2 separate regions of the Homo sapiens genome follow, and region 2 is linked to region 1. The links are contacts of gene promoters, found by promoter capture Hi-C in blood cells and fetal thymus (Javierre and others, 2016). All regions are on one chromosome and are shown on one strand. The core of a region is centred on a gene start or on the middle of the fragment in contact, and the rest is flanking DNA. Distances in the headings are between cores, read along the strand shown. Region 1 holds the start of ALDH18A1 (aldehyde dehydrogenase 18 family member A1). Region 2 overlaps ENTPD1-AS1 (ENTPD1 antisense RNA 1).

Region 1 (4,552 bases), core at 1,078-3,577:
CGATCTCCTGACCTTGTGATCCACCCACCTCGGCCTCCCAATATTGTAGCTCTTTTTATGCTACAGAGACACTGCTATTTTCACAAGGTAAGAAAAATACTTCACTTTCTTTGTTTGTGGGCCTCCTTTTAACTTTTGTTCCATGGATTGGTGGATATATCCCAGCCCTCTTAAATGTGCCTCAGAAGACTAGCATTTAGCCCCATAGTGAAGAAAAATTAGGAATGGTGTCATTGCTTTACAATTTATACTGCACAAAGGCACTGAAATGGGACAGAGAAGAGACTGGCAGGATGCAGCTGTTCTAAAACATATGGCATCTAGTAGGCAACAGAAAGTATTAATTGATCTTTGTTATTTCAATTTTTTCATAACACTGAAGTATGATTTTAGCACGTGATCTAAGTTTGCTGCTTATATAAATTCCTTCAATAATGGCTGCTAAACAATTATTTACATGTGAATTCTCCAAAATAACTACAGAAGAGCCAAAGGGTAAAACAATCAAATTCCAGTTCCACCTCCCTAAGAAACCTTCCCCAGCAAGGCTAGTCTTCACAGCTGGATATAATTCTATAGGTTAGCTTTTAAATAGCTCATGACTACTGCTTTTCCCATCTGGATTACAAACTTTCCATTGACAATATGGCAAAAACGATGAGGAACAAGGCCTTTGAAGTTGGTCAGATTTGGGTTCGAGCTCTGCACTTGCTGTGTGTCTTGTGGAGAGTTACCCAATTTTTCTTTATTATTATTATTATTATTATTATTATACTTTAAGTTTTAGGGTACATGTGCACAATGTGCAGGTTAGTTACATATGTAAGAGTTACCCAATTTTTCTAAGCCTCTGTTTCCTCACTTATAAATCAGGGATACTAACACTATGGACCTCATGAAATTATAGTGAGAATTAAAAGAGAGAATGCGTGGAAAGTGCTTGGGTACAACAAATGGTCAGTAAATGTCAGTTTTCCTCCTTTTGTCTTTTAGGCACTAATGATGCCTTACAATTATTTTTTCCTTAATTTCCTTCAAGACCCATCACGGGAACAAAGAATTCAACGAATATTCACTATTAGATACAATCACACACATATATTGACTGACTGTTTACCTCTCTATTAACCAAGAGTCATTGAAAGCTCTGAACACCTACGGTCACTGAAATAAGAGATTGAAGACTGACGTAGAAACCAAGCCTCCTGACCTCTCCCCTGTACCACCATCTCTGACTGACCAGGCAGAGTGTATTACGCCCTCGAGAAGCACACAGTTGATCCCAAGGAGCAAAGAGAGTGTGTGTGTGTGTGTGTGTGTGTGTGTATCTAGACTCGTGTCTAGATTTGTGTGACTGTGTCTCGACTCTGTGTGTGTGTTTAGACTCCATATCATCAGTTGAAGAAAGTTTTCACGTTTTGACTCAAGACATTTCTCAATATCTCTTTACAGACTAAACAGAATGCCCTTATCTAACTGATTTGAACAGAGAAGTGAACCTCAGTCCCAGCACAGTTCACCCACAAACACATGCTCGGTATATGGCTCACCACTTAAATACAAAGATCCGATGGGCCTCACCACCTCAGAGGGCAGGGGATAATGATGGGGGAAGGACGAGGTGGGGTATGTGGGTGCGTCCTGCTGTAACAGGAAGACCCCAGCATACACAGAATGCCATACTGCAAAGGGAGTCTGGCTTTGAGGAGGGGATGATGAACGCCTGGAGGGCCGCGGGGAACTAGGGACCCAGGCCCCTGAGAGTCAGCGTGCGGCCAGCTAAAACCCGCGGCATCCCGGCGCTGCCACCACCGCCACCCACGCCACCCACCAGTGCAGGCTCCATACTCTTGGAAAGAAGGGGCCCGCGGATGCCTGAAGTCTCCACTTGGCCCAGTTCCTTACATGGTGTACCCAGGGGAGGCCGGGGAGGTCAGGGCCCGTAGCCATCCGTAGATCCCGGGGCGGCCGCGCACCGGCATATGGGAGCGCGCCACGGTCTTGCAGCGCGCCCTGGGCGGCCCGATGCAGCCGCCATCCCTCGGCCGAGGCCCACACCTACCCATGGGCCAGATCCCCGGGCCCCGGCACCTGCTCCGGCAGCGTCCCCGCTCCAGCGGCCCGGCGCTCACGCCCCTCGCGCTTGAGCCTGGGCGCGCAACAGCTTCCGCAGAGACGCGGGCGCCTAGCCATCCCCGCCGCTCGCCGCGTACCTTCCTCACCACCGCCGCCTTCGCCCCCTGGCACTACCGCGGGTCCGCACTCCACGCCGGGCTGATTCCGGCGCTCGCTCACTCTCTTTTTTCTTCCGTCCACGTCCCGCACGATGACGTTACGTCAGTGGCGTAAGAGTAAACCTGGGCAGCCGGCCCTACGCTGTTGACGTGGGGCGAGGGCCTGTCCTGGAGCTGCGGCGCGGCAATGGCGTAGGCCCCTTTCGAGAATCAAGCCAGCGCTCCACGTGGCGGGCCAGCCCACCAGGCCCCGGCAGCCTGGAAGAGGCGGGACTCGAGTTCAGGGGGAACGCCCACGTCCCGGGAGGGGACAGGGGCCGGAGACAGGGGCGAAGACACCTTCGAAACGCCGCCCCACTGGGCCTTCCAGGGAGGTAGAAGAGGTGCCTGGCACCCTCAGCTGCTGGTAGATTTCATAAGGTGTGTTTGTCAATGTTAACCATTTATATCCCGGGCACACCTCGGAAATAGGTTGGATCAACTTACATATGTTTGTTACTTCAGGCACATCCTGGGAATAGATTGGATCAGTTTACACACATTTGCAAACTTTGGCTCCTTAAATGGAAGCATTTTGGCACTGCAATCAAATTACTTGCCCCCTAGTCATCTGGAGGTTTCCCCAATGGTCCCATCTCAACTCCCTTTCATCAAAGGCAGTTGTAAGAATATTGCATTTTAAAATAGGATATTCAATCTATGACAACTAGAACTATTCCAAAGGTGAATGCAGACTCACCTTTAAAGAGAGACCACAAAAACCTGGCACTGTGGTGTGTGCCTGTAGTCCCAGCTACTCGTAGGTGGAGGCAGGAGAACCACCTGAGCCCAGGAGTTCAAATCCAGCCTGGACAACACAGCAAGACCCCACCTCTTAAAAAGAAAAAGAAAAAAAGTGAAAACACAGATTTTTCTCCCTCTTTCCTTGCTGTATTTTGCTCAAAGGACACATTCCTGCATAGGCACATAGTGCTGGGTGGTGGGAGGGCAGCACTTGATAGGAGGTTGGGCACAGAAAGGCATCATGCCCTTCTGTCGTCCCTGATAACACTACTAAGCCTATTTATTCATTTTCTTGTTTATTAAACACTGGCTACTGCTATGGTCTGAATATGTCCCCCAAAATTCATATGTTGGAAACTTAATTCCCAATGCAAGAATATTGGGAGGTGGGGCCTAATGGGAGGCATTTGGGTCAAGAGTGCTCCACCTTTATGAATAGAGTGACCCTCATGAATAGATTAATGCTGCTATCAAAAGGTTTGTGGAGGTGGGTGTTCTCTTCTGCTCTTCTGCCCTTCCACCACGTGAGGATACAGCAAGAAAGCCCTCACCAGATGCTGGCACCTTGATCTTGGACTTCCTAGCCTCTAGAACTGTGAGAAATAAATTTCTATTATTTAAAAATTATCCAGTCTGTGTTATTGTGTTTTAGCAGCACAAAATGGACTGAGACAGCCAAGCATTCCCTGGGTGTGGAAGAAGACATAGCTGAGTTCACAGCCTTATGGAAGAGAGAGATATATGAGCAAATAATTACAATACCATGTGATGAATACTAAAGAATGGGATGGCCAGACATTCAGGGATGGCTGAAATGGTTTGACTTTGTGTCCCCACCCAAATCTCACCTTGAATTGTAATTCCCATAATCCCCACCTATGGAGGGTGGGACCTGATGGGAGGTGATTGGATCATGGGACTGTTTCCCCCATGCTGTTCTTGTGATAGTGAGTTCTTATGAGATCTGGTGGTTTTATAAGGGACTCTTCCCCCTTCACTGGTTTGCTTTCTCCTGCCTGCCACCATGTAAGACTTGCCTCTTCCCCTTCCACCATGATTGTAAGTTTCCTGAAACCTCCCCAGCCATGTGAAACTGTGAATCATCTAAATCTCTTTTCTTTATAAATTACCCAGTCTTGGGTATGTCTTTGTAACAGTGTGAAAACAGACTAATACAATGGCTTTAAAAAGAGTTGATATTCAAATTGTGCTTTGAAGCACTAGAAGTAAGGAGTTTACCTAAAAGAGGAGAGGAGTACAGGATCATATGAGGAAGAGGGAATAAGGGAATGATATATGCAGAGGTGTGAGACACCCCGTGAAAAGAGGCTACTTGCAGTAGGACATGACAGGAGAGGGGTCTGGCTGGTATCCTAAACTTACAAAGGGTTTTTTGTGGTATGCTAAAGATTTTGAATTTTATAATCCTTAAAAACAGAGAAACATGACTTTTTAAGTGCTGGAATGGTATGATCCGATTTTTGTGCCAGAAATCAGTAAAGACGCCTAGAGCTGGAATGTTGGTTAGCCTATTG
Region 2 (4,593 bases), core at 1,920-4,419, 250 kb after region 1:
TTCAATTACTTTTTGTGCTATTGCTATATAATTTTGAGTTAGTTCATTTTGTAAGTAACAAAGATGAAAATCACAAAAGATTTATTGAAAGCTGTTTATGGCAGCATATACTAAAACCTAGATGCAAAGACAGTTCCTTTCTCATTTTGGAATCAGTATTTATTCTTTTCTACCAGCCCCCATCCCTGCCCATCTTTCTCTCTCTTCTTGTGTGTTTGTTTTGCAGGGGAAAGCAGAGGGGGAAGTAGAGACCTTTCTTTTTTTAGGTTAATACAGTGAAACTCCACTTAAAATGGACTTCCTGGATTCCCTTCCAGAGATTGGTTCAAAAACTCTGTGATGGAGTTCAGGAATCTGCATTTTAAATAAACACTCCTAATAACTTTGATGCTGGTAGTCCAAGAACAACACTGAAAAGCAAGGTGCATGGATAAGTAGAGTAGTGTTTTGCCAGGTGGAACAGTCCATTCTAGGCAGAGAACAGAAGTAAAGGCATGATGGCATCAATGTGCATCATGTGCCTGAGGAACAGGTGCTTAAGGTCCTTAACTTTGCTGGTCCTCAGTTTCTGCGTCTGATAAAAGAAGAGCTGACCTACATTGTTTTTGAGGTCCTTCCCAAAGTTAATATTTGATCATCACCCAAAGTACACAGGAATCATGGTTCACTGTTCACAGATGATACTGTGCTAATTGCTACTCATTTATTCAACAAACAAATGAAGAAATTCAGTGTCAGCCCTCAGTTTTTAGTCTGGTGGAGAGAGAGACAGATGAGTAATTACTATACAGTGCCATACAGAAGGAATTAGTGGTGGCATCACAAAGAAAGTAATGCTTGAGCAGAAACTTTATGGGGAAAAGTTGACAGGATTCCAGCAAGGAATGGCTCGTGCAAAGAAAACTACATGCTGTGACCAGGATACAGTTAATGGTTTAGCATGGTTTTAGCACAGTGTGCATGCTGGAGAATCGCAGAAAAACAAAGTTTTGGAAGAAAGGAGCTAGTTCATATATGTCAGGCAGAGCTCAGATTTTACTATATGGAGGAACTGAAAGCAGGGGATCAGGTCTGCACTTTAGGAACACAGTTCTGGTGATAATATAATGAAAGAAACAAGAAGGAGATAACTGGGAGACAAGTTAGTTAGTCAGTGAATGTCAAGAGATGCTGGCTGCTAAAGCACAGCCATGAGGACAAAGACAGGCTCCAAAGAACAGCTATTCAGGCAGCAGAATTAACCTGCTGAATGTGTGTGGAATGACTTTAAAAAATGGAATTTCAGGATTGTTCTTAGTTTTCACTGGGGTGACTGAGCAGATACTGGCCTCATTCACGAAACAGGAAACACAGGGAATAAGTCTGGGGAGGGAAGGTTGGTTTTGAACTCTATACATTTCGGGTACTTTGGGTACTGGGGTAAGGGTGTCACCGTCAGGAGCTCAGGTAAGAAGTCCAGGCTAAAGAGAGATTTGGAGGTCATTTCCCTAAACTGGTGGTTGAAGCTAAGAGATTACTCATAGGGAACAACAGAAACTGAAAAGAGAAAAAGATCAAGGACAAAACCTTAAAGAGCAACAACTGCGGGAAGGGGGACAGAGGGAAAGGTTTGTTTATTTTTATGACAAACTTCAACATGTCTAGATGCCAAGGAGAAGAAAATGACTACAAAAGCATAGAAAAGGTATTAGAGCAAGCTTGTCCAACCTGCAGCCCACAGGCTCCATGTGGCCCAGGACTGCTTTGAATGTGGCCCAAGACAAATTTGTAAACTTTCTTAAAACATTTTGAGAGTTCTTTGCAATTTTTTATTTTTTGAGCTCATCAGCTATCGTTAGTGTATTTTATGTATGGCCCAAGACATTTCTTCTTCTTCCAATATGGCCCAGGGATGCCAAAAAATTGGATACCCCACACTAGAGCAAGATCCCAGAGGAACTGGTACTGCAAATTTAAAATAACCTAAGAGGTGGGAGAAGAATGGTAGAAACTGATGTTTGCGAAAACAATGAAACAAGGAAAGTTCAAGACTGGGAAATGGTCTACAGAGCCAAGTGCAGAAAAGAAGCCTAAGAAGATATTTTGGGTTTGGCAATCACAAAGTCCTTGGTGGCATGATTAGGTGGCGGAAGCCAGAACTCTGTGGGTAGAAGAGTTAACAAGTAAGGGAAGGGAAAAAAAGATTACCTTTTTCTCTAAATGTGGCTGTAAAAAAGGAGAGAGAGAAGAAATCTGAGAATAATCCCAGTTGATGGTTTTTCTTTTTGTTTTTGTTTTGTTGGATAGGGCAGATAAAGCCAGGGGAGGGAGGTGGGGAAAGGGTATACTGAAGATAAAAAGGGAGGGTTAAATGATGAAATAAGGCCCCAGAGGAGACAGAATGAATGGGATCTAGGACATATATTGGATCATCTGTAGATAGAAAAAAAAAAAAGAAATAAATCAAACATACCTCTTCATCTGAGACAGGATATCTGCTGATGTTAAGTTGGCCTGGTGGTCAGTGTCACAGTATTCATGTCTGAGAGTCTCTGTTTCCTCTGAAAAAGCCAAGCCAGCTGCTGAAAGTACAAGGTCAAAAGTAGAGTAGGTTTAAGGAACGATAAAAGTTAGAATAGTAGCTGTGGGTGAGAAAGGAAAAGAATGGCTGAGCTACATTATGGACCATGCCATATCATCATGGCAATAATCTGGTTACATGATTTTCACTAATACAATTACCTTTCTATATGAGGAGAGAAAGCAAATGGCTAGACTAAACTAGAATAGGTATGCTGGACAAAAGTGGAAGAAACACAAAAGGCAAAGAAATTGTGGATACTGATGTGGGTAAATAATAAAACAAGGAGTGTGGGCTAGACAAGGAAGAAAGTCAATGTAGGTAGAGGCTGATGATGACAAAATAGTCATCAAGGGACAGCGTCTTCATGAGATCAGGGATTAAGTATAGAAGAATAAGGCAGAGGAAGAGATGAAAGAAACAGGAAGATGAGAAGAGAATACTAGAGTTCGTGATTGTTAATATGGAACAGTCTTAGATATTATGGTCCTGCAGTCAGTCAGTCATGGCAGTAAGTTAAGGGAATATGGGGTGCTGGACCTGTGATACACATGACTGCTTTAGTCCCCCCAGAACCTTGTAGCAATTGAGTATGAAAGAAAGACTGGCCAGGCACAGTGGCTCATGCCTGTAATCCCAGCACTTTGGGATGCCGAGGCGGGTGGATCACCTGCGGTCAGGAATTCAAGACCAGCCTGGCCAACATGGTGAAATCCGGTCTCTCCTAAAAATACAATTAGCTGGGCGTGGTGGTGCACGCCTGTAGTCCCAGCTACTCGGGAGGCTGAGGCAGGAGAATCGCCTGAACCCGGGAGGCAGAGGTTGCAGTAAGTTGAGATCACACCACTGCACTCCAAACTGGGCTGACAGAGACTCCGTCTCAAAAAAAAAAAAAAAAAAAAGACTTGAGTTGGGTACTAAATTCCTTAATGAACATGAGTGACCAGGCAGCTGGTAAATAACAGTGAGGAGAGGGAAAAGGGCTCATTAGAGAAGGGTTTCTGGTAAGTTTTACAAGGGTGGAATGGAATGGCGTAGCAATGGCCATGAGGAGATGGCGAATACAGATACCAGCTCTGGGTCCTGGGGTGGGATGGAATGGCCTAGCAATGGCCATGAGGAGATGGCGAATACAGATACCACCTCTGGGGGGCGGGGGGCGCGGGCAGGCACGGCTTTCGCTGTGGTGAATTGCTGGGAAAGCAGTGTCTCCAGCAGGCATGGCTTTCGCTGTGGTGAATTGCTGGGAAAGCAGTGTCTTCAGGAGACAGCCAGGTACCCAATATCACAAGGAGGAATGTTTTGTGAACAAGAAGATATAAAGACATAGAGGGGTGAGAACATGTGGTGTTTGGTTTTTTGTCCTTGCGATACTTTGCTGAGAATGATGGTTTCCAGCTTCATCCATGTCCCTACAAATGACATGAACTCATCATTTTTTATGGCTGCATAGTATTTCATATGAGAATTGAACAATGAGAACACCTGGACACAGGAAGGGGAACATCACACACCAGGGCCTGTTGTGGAATGGGGGGAGGGGGAGGGATAGCATTAGGAGATATACCTAATGTAAATGACGAGTTAATGGGTGCAGCACACCAACATGGCACATGTATACATATGTAACAAACCTGCACGTTGTGCGCATGTACCCTGGAACTTAAAGTATGATAAAATATATATATATATAAATTTAAAAAAAGATATAGAGGGGTTTACATATGAGGAGTCTAGAAAAAGAGTTTACAGTTTCCAGAAGAAGGCAGATAGTGAGACGATCAGCAGATGGAGAAGGTGTGGGAATGAGGCTGCGAGAAGGGATAAATTATCTGGGTTGTTACCAAGTATGACAGAGACTATAGACAGGGTGGGATTTACGGTCTCAAATGAAACTGTGCCAAGCTGTCAGAGACACTGGGACTCTATTTTGCTTACTAAGGTTAAACACTAGTATTACTTTTGGTCACCATACTATTAAAAAATAAAGACAATCCTACGAAACTTAGGCAATTAATATCAGAATAAAGAGG

What was found. The method cuts DNA at HindIII sites, captures the fragments that hold promoters and counts their contacts. A CHiCAGO score of 5 or more calls a contact.
Region 2: a contact is called between a fragment that was not itself captured here and the fragment with the promoter of ALDH18A1 in region 1, in 1 of 17 cell types (activated CD4 T cells). The highest score is 5.9, in activated CD4 T cells.

Annotation. Positions count from the first base shown.
Region 1 is chr10:95,654,384-95,658,935 of GRCh38, forward strand. ALDH18A1 (aldehyde dehydrogenase 18 family member A1) reads right to left here and starts at 2,328. Exons shown (of 18, transcript NM_002860.4): 1 at 2,214-2,328. RefSeq lists a silencer at 2,065-2,174. The HindIII fragment of the contact is 11,183 bases long and covers 1-4,552 here.
Region 2 is chr10:95,902,378-95,906,970 of GRCh38, forward strand. All of the region lies in intron 2 of ENTPD1-AS1 (ENTPD1 antisense RNA 1), which reads right to left. Among named protein-coding and RNA genes, the nearest start is that of CC2D2B, 3.3 kb to the right of the region's middle. The HindIII fragment of the contact is 2,948 bases long and covers 1,696-4,593 here.